2 separate regions of the Homo sapiens genome follow, and region 1 is linked to region 2. The links are contacts of gene promoters, found by promoter capture Hi-C in human tissues and cell types (Jung and others, 2019). All regions are on one chromosome and are shown on one strand. Each heading gives the region's core, a stretch centred on a gene start or on the middle of the fragment in contact. The rest is flanking DNA. Distances are from core to core; before and after follow the strand shown. Region 1 has its middle 58 kb from the start of GPR12. Region 2 holds the start of SLC46A3 (solute carrier family 46 member 3).

The links. The method cuts DNA at HindIII sites, captures the fragments that hold promoters and counts their contacts. A contact is called where the count stands out against the background at its distance.
Region 1: a contact is called between a fragment that was not itself captured here and the fragment with the promoter of SLC46A3 in region 2, in 1 of the 25 tissues and cell types used here (stomach).

Annotation. Positions count from the first base shown.
Region 1 is chr13:26,816,142-26,821,474 of GRCh38, forward strand. No RefSeq gene overlaps it. Among named protein-coding and RNA genes, the nearest start is that of GPR12, 58 kb to the left of the region's middle. The HindIII fragment of the contact is 7,529 bases long and covers 1-5,333 here.
Region 2 is chr13:28,717,679-28,722,424 of GRCh38, forward strand. SLC46A3 (solute carrier family 46 member 3) reads right to left here and starts at 1,292. Exons shown (of 6, transcript NM_181785.4): 1 at 818-1,292; 2 at 132-344. The coding sequence starts at 320. It also overlaps the pseudogene CYP51A1P2. The HindIII fragment of the contact is 18,064 bases long and covers 1-4,746 here.

The DNA.
Region 1 (5,333 bases), core at 664-3,163, 1.9 Mb before region 2:
AAGTTACCTCTGAGGGGAATGGTCACTCGGGTATCAAACACAGAAGTAGCAACTGGACAACAGCTCTGTTATATTTCTGTCAGTGGGACAACAGCTCTGTTATATTTCTATGTCAGTGCTGCTGGGACAGGACACCATCTGGGTGTGGCAGCCTGGCCAGGTGAGCTGATCACTCAGAGTAGCCAGAGGCAGAAGGGCTGGGACGAAAGTGAGGGTGGCCAGCAAGATGGGCGCGAAGTGCAAGGCCCGGTCAGCAAGCTGTGCTAGCTGGCTGGGGCTGCCGCAACAAAATGCCACAAATGGAGCAGCTGAAACAACAGAAATGTCCTGTCTCACTGTTCTGGCAGCCAAGTCCACGATCAAGGTGTCCACAGGGTTATGCAACCTCTGAGGGCACTGGCGAAGGACCTGTTCCAGGCTTCTCTCCTGGCTTTCAGGAATTCCTTGGTTTGTGGCAGCAGAACCCCAATCTTTATGCAGCGCTCTGTGTGTCTGTTCTTCACCTGGTGTTCTTTTCACAAGGACACAGTCATTCTGGATTGGGGACCACCCTATTCCAGTGTGACATCATCTTGACTAATTACATATAACGACCCTACTTTCAAATAAGGTCCCGTGCTGAGGCACTGGGGTTAGGACTTCATCACATGAAGTTGCAGTGGAGCACAATTCAACCCTTAACAAAGTCCATTTTTTGGGAGGCTAATTGGGGGATCGGTCAAAAGGTGGGAGACCCAATAGAAAATCGCAGGTCGGTGAGCGACATGGGTCAGGGTAAACGGTTCAGGAGAAAGGTGAACTAACTTTTCAGGGGGTCTTGGGGCTGCTTCTCCATGATGCTGGCTGCAGGGCACAGTGAGATTTTTTAAAGGCAGTGAAGGATCAAATGCAGTCTTGCTGTAGGCCTGGGCTGCTGCACTGGGTGATCGTGAAGAATTCCTTCAGTTCAGTGTCATCTGACACGCATTCCGGAGCCCGAGCCATGTGCCACAAGCTGGGTACACAGTGGTGGATAAAAACATCCATTGCTGCCCCCAAGGAGCTCACAGTTTTATGATTAAATGGCAACATTTTTATAGTGTCCAAAAACAGTTCCAGTATTTTTTTAACCACATTTTTCTTGAGCTAGACAGAAAGTTAAAATGCAGTGAAACAATCAACCACATGTTAAAATTGCAGAACAAAATTGGTGCCGTGTCAGCTTTCCGCTGGTTTCAAAACAAGCAGTAATGAGCTAATAGGAAAAAAAAATAGTGAGGGCTGGGGGGGTGACATAGAGACGGTTCATGGTATCTCTCTCAGCATATTGTTTTACATTTAAAGAAATGTCTTCATTATTAGGTCTGCTGATGCCACGTTGTAGCAATGTTTATGTCTTGCTTGAGAATCAAGACAGCACCTCTCTGCTCAAGGTTACCTAAATTTATAATCATTCACTGGCAGGCAATGATATAATATAGTCTCTTAATAATAGAGTTAAATGTAATACCTGGCCATGTGTTGGGAAAAGCATGGATTTTCAAGTTAGACACATCTGTCTCCTGTCTAACGTCACTCTGTAACTGTGTGAACTTATTCAGGAAGTTGAGCCTTCTGTTTCTAGTTGGTAAAATGGGAATGATAAAGATTTTCTACAATTATTGGGAGGATTCGACAAGAAAACACATTCAAGAGCCTAGCCCAATCCTGGAGCATAGCAAGCACTTTTAAAAAAAAGTGTCTTGGGCTTACACAAACAAATGCATCTGTTCCTGTCGTGACTTTGCAGATTGGGGAGGCAGGGCTGGGGCTCAGGGCAAGAAACTGCCAAAGAGGAGGCAAACTCAGGGAACCAGAGGCGTAAGAACCCTCCAGGTGAGCAGCTCAGTGCCAGGGAATATCAGAACCACAATCAGGGCAAGGCTGAGAAACCAGGGAGGCTGTGATGGGCAGATGTGTCTACTTCCCAAATACCTTTGAATCTAACCACTTCTCTCAACCCCACAACCATTGTCTGACATTAGGACATCTGGGCTCCTTTAAGGGCCACCTAATTTATCTCCCCACCTCCCCTAACTTTCCCCTATCCACTTCCCTTTCTGCAGCAAGAAAGATGCTTAAAGATGCAATCCAATCTAGTCCTCCTGGGCTTAAAGACAGGATATCCAGCGCACCTGTCCTACACTAGTACAGGGGCTGGATTCCACCTGTTGATGTTAATGACGCTACATTGTTGACCTGCCAATTGAATAGAGAAGACATAGAAATGATTTTTAAAATATACTGTCAGCTGGGTGCAGTAGCTCATGCCTGTAATTCCAGCACTTTGGGAGGCTGAGGCTGGTAGATTGCTTGAGCCCAGGAGTTCAAGACCAGCCTGGGCAACATGGTGAAAACCCATGTCTACAAAAAATACAAAAATTAGCCAGGCATAGTGGCACACATCTGTGGTCCCAGCTACTCAAGAGCCTGAGGCGGGAGGATCACCTGAGCCTGGGAGGTGGAGGCTGCAATGAGCCATGATGGTACCACTCCAGCCTGGGCAACAGAGTGAGTTTTATTCTCTCTTTCTCTCTCTCTCTCTCCTCTCTCACTCTCTCTCTCTCTCTCTCTCTCTCTCTCTATATATATATATATATATATATATATATATACACACACACACAAACACACACACATACATATACATATATATATCACTGAGTTGAAAAGATTAAGACTTTTTTAACTTAGTTTATTTGGACTCAGTGTTTTGTTTGTAGCTTTTAAATGCTAATTTAAGCTTTATAAATCTGCTTTGAGATTTGTCCTGAATTTCAACACAATTCAACTTTCAGTCTGCAGATGAATTTGTCCACTGCCAAATATGCTGAGGTCTGAGCAAGGGCCTATCGTCTGGACCGAGAGGCATCCCTCACTAAGGCAGGAATATTTCAATAGGGATAAATGTGACAGGGTCCTCTGTCTGTCAATGAGTCCTGGAAATTGGATGCTGAGCCTAGAGACAGCTTGCAATTTGAGGGTTACTCTGCTGCCATTTGGAAGGTGTCAATAGGGAGTTGGGACTCTTCCTGTTCCAACAGACACATACTTCTTAACTTGTGAATCCATAAATAGCCTCCTGTCTGCTGAGCCCCAGTGTGCTGTGACAATGCAGGAGCGAGACAGCATGCAGAAGCTCCCTCTGTGTACTAAGCGCTTGCAACACCATCTGCTTTCGTCTGTATTTAGGGGCTAGTTTGTTAGCTCAGAGTGCTAAGAAGTTAAGGTTGCAGGGGCCTGATGCTGCCCAGGCCTTGTTCAATCAAAAGAAAACCTAATATTGAAACAGAAAAAAGAGGAGCCACAACTGAAGAATTTTGCATCTGTCGCCTGCTTCATTCTCCACCCAAGCTCAAAGTTCTCTCCTGTAGGGAATCCAGCCATATATTCCTGTGACTGTGGGTCTGCTCTGTTTGGGGCCTACTTCAGGAAACTGCAAATACCTTTGCTTACGGCTGGCTGATTACAGCTCCCTTAGCTTAGAAACACATGTGTGGTGTGTGGGTCCTGTGGACTGAATATATGTGTCCCCCCCAGATTCATATATTGAAGCATTAATCCCTATGATGGCATTAGGAGGTGGGGCCTTTGGAGGTAATGAGGTCAGGAGGATGGAGCTCTTATGATGGAATTAGTGACCCTGTAAGAAGAAACACAAGAGAGACGTTCTCTTCACCATATGAGGACACAAAAAGAAGGTGCCGTCTGCAAACCAGGAATCGAGCCCTCAGGAGACATTTGATCTACTGGTACCTTAGTCTTGAACTTTCCAGCCTCCAGAACTGTGAGAAATACATTTTTATTGTTTACAAACCACCCATTCTGTAGTATCTTGTTATAGCAGCCTGTCTTAGTCCATTTCATGCTGCTATAACAGAATGTCTGACACTGGATGATTTGTAAAGAACAGAGATTGCTTTCTTACGGTTCTAGAGGCTGGGGAGTCCAAGTTTGAGAGGCTGCACCTGGTGAGGGGCTTCTTGCTGTGGTATCCCATAGTGGAAAGCAGAAGGGCAAGAGAGCATGAGACAGACAGAGAGAGAGAGAGAGAGAGAGAGAATGCATGAGAGGGAGCCGAACTTGCTTTCCTAACAAACTTACTCATTACTATCCAAACTATCTTACAAGACAGTGTTGTTAATTTACTCAGGAGGGCAAAGCCTGCATGACCTCATCACCTCTTAAAAGTCCCACCTCTCAACGCTGTTGCTGACAAGGGATTAAGTTTCCAACATATAAAGTTTGGGGACATATTTGTCCCGCAGCACAGCCCAAATGGACTAAGACAGTGGGTGCGTGGGGTGTTTAGGATGGAAAATGGAAAATGTATTTGAGCGAGAAAGTTTCTGCCTCTGGTTTGTTACTCTAGGACACTAAGAAGCTACAGCTACCCAGGGGAATTGGCCCAGATCATGTAAATGTTGTGTATCCTGTTCCCACTTTTGCTTTTCATTCAAAACGTGGCCTGTGGAAGAGCAGCTTTGTGTAAGAAATTTGGGGAGCCGAGCTGGGAAGTGAAGGAAGGAGAAGCAAGCGTGTCTTATCTTGGGTGCTCTGATGGGCAGCAGGACGAGTTCCCTTCCAGTAGCTGGCGCAGGGAGAGGGTGGGGAGCTGGAGGGAAGGTCAGGGCCACATACCACCGAGTCCAGGGCAGGGTGGGTGCCCCAGCCGCAGAACAGTCAGGATATGGAGAGCTCTGTCTCCCAAATCCACAGAGCCTAGTTAACCTAGGCTGAGGCAAATGCAAGAGCCGAGGAGTGGGTGTCTGTGGTCAGGATCCACGGAGGTGCTGTGGAGTGGGGATGCCCAGCAGGACCTGGAGCCCTTGTACACAGTGCCTCTGCTGTGCTGGAGCTCCCTGTGGAGGCCTGATGTCTGAAGGCAGAGTGTGGTTTAACTGGCACCAGACAAAACTGGAAAGGGTGGGGCAGGAGTGAAAGGGTTGAGTGTGAAGAATATGGCTTTGGAGTCACATGGACCGACTCCAATCCCAGTTCTACCACTCGGCAGCTGTCACCAGGGCAAGTAGCTCATCTTCCCTGAGCCTCCATTTCTTCTCTCTAAGTAGGGAATAAAAGTACCTCCCTCACAAGGTTTTAGTGAGGACCCGAGATCAATGTATGTAAAGGAGACTTGCAACCGCCGTTATTAACTGCAGGAGTCAGTGATGGGATAGGGGAGATTTGCCAGGATCCACAAGTGTTTTCTGACACAGAGGGAAGGTTTACACGTTGTCAGTTATATATTCTGCAGCATTTATCACGCAGCATCACCATGTCTGAAGGGCTGTATCAAGGTTGCAAAGCCCAGG
Region 2 (4,746 bases), core at 42-2,541:
AGGTTTGGGATTTAGGACTTTGATGGCCGCCCTAGAGAGACCAATGGATGATGAGTTCACGGTCCTCTTTAACTCAAAGCCCGGTATACATTCCCATTTTATTAAATACTATGGATATTGTAATTTCTTACCTCCTGGAATGCAAAAATTGGGCTGCTTTTGTTTTTTTCACACTCAGAAATATTGCTATCAGATGAAAAAGTGTAGTTGCCAGTTTCTTCCCATATTCTCCGATAAACATATTGCGTTGTCAGTGGACCGGTCAAAGTCATAGCAAATGCACTAAGGAAAATGGCAGGTTCTACAAATAAAATCTTCATATTGCCTGGGTAGGTAGCTGTATTCTATAAAAAGTGAAAACGGAGAAAGATCATCTGTCTCATCCCAGAGGCTAGATATTCAAAGATGGGTAAGTTTGAGCAATTTTGTGGAGTAAATGTTTAAACAAGCAAACTAGAGAACAGAAAAGGCAGTAAGCACTTTCTCAGAGAATAACTTTTACTTTGGAGTAGAGTACTCTGTAACAACCTGAGGCTGCCATGCTTTCCATTTTTATGAGTAGGACATTGTAGGACTCAAGCCGCCTTTGAGTCTTTGAAATCATAAACTGTCACCCATCTTGGTTAGCCAATGATCACAGTACAGTTCCCACACTGTATATTGCCAACTGATTTTTCGTAAGTTCAACAATGAGGTTCCTTTTGGGAAGCGACAGTTGCACAATTGTTATTGTTATTTTGCTGCGTATTAAAAACGGACAGGGAGGGGGCGTTTTAAAAAGCAGCTCCCAATCGAAAGGGCCTTATTTTTAACTCACCCCACGATTACAGTCTTCCTGCCAGGCTGGGTACAGGTCGGGCCGTGCCAGGGGCTGTCGCCTCGGATGCCCTGCGCTCGTGCGCGCCCGGGTTCAAGGGCAGCCTCTGGACTGGGGCAACAGAGGACGCGCCGGGGACAGTAACCTCGGACTACGCGGCCGGCGCTGGGGTGGGGAGAGTACTTTCCCGTCGAACTCGACCAAATTACGCTTGTCGGGGAGTCTCAAGCGTATTGTAAAGCAAACCTCGGCAAGCGCACTTCCGCGTCCCGAGTGACACCTGCAGGGTTCTCCGGCAGCCCTCGGCTTCCCCGCGGCCCTGCGGACCTCGGCCTCAGCGCGGCGCGGCGGGGCGCGGAGCAGCTGCTCCTTCTGCGCAGTGGACAATCGGCCAATCGGCGCCTCCGTCGGTCGGTCAGCGGCCCTGCCAGCGCTAGGCGATGACTCGGCCGCAGCCAGCTGAGCATCGCTGTCCGCCGAGGAGGCGGGGTCGGCTGCCGCGGCGCTGTCACTGTTCTACCCGGCTCTCCTGCGATTGGGCCCAGCGGTCGGTGCCCCAGCGGCGATTGGTCCACCCGGACGTCACTCTCCCCTGGAGAGTGGCTAGTGGATCGTGCACCCACCCTCGGAGGCCCGGAGTGGATCCCGCGCGACCGAGCAGCCACTCAGCACCGCTGTTGAGTGGTGGGCCGCGCCGCAGGCTCAACAGCTCTGGAGTTGCAAAGCATTTCTGAATCCGAATATCCTTTCTCATAGAAACACATAAAACAACAGTTGGAAAAGTAACATGTTTGGGCTGTAGCCCCCAGCAGGATCCCGGTCGGCCCGCAGAAGAGGGGAATGGGCGCAGGTGGAGGGCATAGGAAAGAGAGTGCTCAATGCAGAGTTAGCGGAGGGTTGGAATGTGGTCGCTGGCTTTTCCTGGGGAGGGGAGGGGGGACTTGGGCAAATCGTTAAATTTTCATGAACCTCCATGTCTTTATCTGCCACGTGGGGATGATAAGTCTTACAGGGTTGTCTAATTAAACACTCAGCATGTATACACAACACAGCCCCTGGACATAGGAGGAGTTGTCAGTGCTCTCCAACACACCCACCAGGAACAACTTGTAGTAAAAGAATTGAGCTACTACTTCTTGAAGCCAGGAGAAATGCATGCATGAGGAACCGTGGGGGCATCTCAGTAAGAAGGTGTTAGAATTTACTATGGGCTTGCGTTATGTGATTTTGGGAAGAGTTCAAGAAAGCAAGGCCTTACTCTGGATTGGTTGCTGTCAGGAAATGGCAGTAATTCTATGATTGGGTATCTTAATAAGTCTTATTTAGGAGTCAAGACTAGACAGAGGCTAAAGCCATGAATGATAAAGAAGCAACAGTCACACATATTTGTCATTTTTGTGGTTTAGACAGTGCCTAAATTTTGTCCGTGTTCAGACAAAATTATGACGTGGTCTTGTTTTTGTCTTGATCATGGTTACAGAATGCTCTTGTCTGACTTTGGTGTTCCGTGAAATTGTTTTCATTCGACAGAACACCATGGTCCAGAAAAGTTCTTAGCAACACCAAGGCCCAGCTGATAGTTCCAGCACCTGGATGTCAGAGCTGCTTTCTCTTCCTCAGCACTCCTTAAATGACAGTTGTGTCACTGAATGCAGAGTTAAACGTCTTAGGTTTGAGTCCTAACTGATACTTAGTAGCTGGTAACCTTGGACTTGCCACTTAATCTTACTTCCCAGCTTCTTCAAATCAGCATTTATGAAGCACTTGTTATGAGTTTCAAACAATGGAGCATGGATATTGGAAAGAAGATAAACAAACATGAGTAAGATACAGTTTGCAAGGAAGACATAATATTTTAAGTTGCAGTACTTTGTACTAAGTACTATATTATTCTAAACGGCACTTAGAAGATGTCCTTTTTTTTTTTTTTTTTTTTTGAGGTGGAGTCTCGCTCTGTCACCCAGGCCGGAGTGCAGTTGCAGGATCTTGGCTCACTGCAACCTCCGCCTCCCGGATTCAAGCAATGATCCTGCCTCAGCCTCCTGAGTAGCTGGGGTTACAAGTGTGCGCCACCATGGCCGGCTAATTTTTGTATTTTTAGTAGAGACAGGGTTTCACCATGTTGACCAGGATGATCTTGAACTCCTGACCTCAGGGGACCTGCCCACCTCAGCCTCCCAAAGTGCTGGGATTACAGGCATGCGCCACCGTGCCCTGCTGAAAATGTCCTTTCTTATGGGGCAAAAATAATTAATGTCCAATATACTTCCACGCTTTGCATTCCTACTCTTCCACACGAAGAAGAAAGCCAGGTCTTCTTAATGAGTTCTGCTGCTGATCGCTATGGTGACAACAGTCATTTTTTTTTTGTATTTTTTCAAAGAGAATTTTAATGTGAAAAATTAGCAGAGTTTCTGCCTTCACAATTAGAGTTTAACATGAGTCTTCCAGTGTTTTAAAAAGAACTGTAATATACGTAAAGCAAAATATTTTGGCATCATCTAGTGAAAACAGACAATGTGGTATTTTTTCAGCCATCTCATATAGTTAGGCCCTGAGTTATAATTTGAGATAAGTGATTCCTAAACAGAATGTGCTTTACAGAATGTGACCAATTATATTACTCCCAAGGACCTTGTTTCAGATTATATTAAAACCAGAGTTCACTGATCTCACATTTTAAAAAGAAAAAAAGTTTGTTAACTGTTTTAATCAACATAAGTAGTAACAAACATCCCTAATTGGATTCTAGAGAGGAAGCAGGGAGGGCCAGGCATGTGGCTCATGCCTGTAATCCCAGCACTTTGGGAGGCCGAGGCGGGTGGATCACGAGGTCAGGAGTTCAAGACCAGCCTAGCCAAAAGAGTGAAACCCTGTCTCTACTAAAAATACAAAAATTAGCCAGGCGTGGTGGCAGGTGCCTGTAATCCCAACTACTCAGGAGGCTGATGTAGACAATTGCTTAAACCCGGGAGGCGGAGGATGCAGTGAGCTGAGATCGCGCCACTGCACTCCAGCCTGGGCGACAGAGCGAGACTCCATCTCAAAAAAAAAAAAAAAAAAAAAGAGAGAGAGAGGAAGCAGGGAACAACTGAGCCAAAACAAAATTATCCCCTAAGGACTTGACTTTGGACTTCCACATAAATGTGACCTTGAAGACCTAGATACATATTTATCAGGTAAATATGTAATTATTTCGTAATTAGATCAAGATACATGAGCAGTTTTTGGCATTAATAATTACATTATTTTTAGGAAATCTTATCAAATATGGTCCCGGATCTCTTAATTTCCTATATTCAGTGATTTTAGTTAAAATTCCAAAGGATATTTTTTTTCTACAACATCTCCATTTCTGAGTATCATCATACCAAAAGAATTAGTATTCTCTCATTCAAGGCTTTAGATGTTCAATTATTCCCTGCCCTTCCATCCTCACCCACACAATAATTGCCCAGATAAATAATAACCTGAGGTTTCCAAGTATCTCACCGGGATTTTTATTCTTTATACCTTGCAGGACTAGTCCAAGATTTGAATACCCTGAACTTATTTGGCAAGAGCTAAGAGTACTCTTAAAATTACTACCTGGAAATTATATTATTTAGAATCTGCCAATTACCTAGATCCTCCTGAACAATTGTTTTACTAATGAACTTCCTGAAAGCACATGTATAAGTATCATAGCTATTAGAAAATGTTTCAAATGCTATTATATTTGATAGAACCATTCAGTTAACAAAATACTAAATCATAAACTGGCTTTTAGAATTACACACTCAAAAAAAACAGTACACTACAAGAGTTGTTTTGTACACTTCATTCTCTTCGAATGCCTTTGTGGCTTACAGTGATGATCACATATATTGGTTCCTTGCAACCTTTTTCATTTTGATCTTCGTTTGTAATGGATAAGTGGGTTTTCAGGG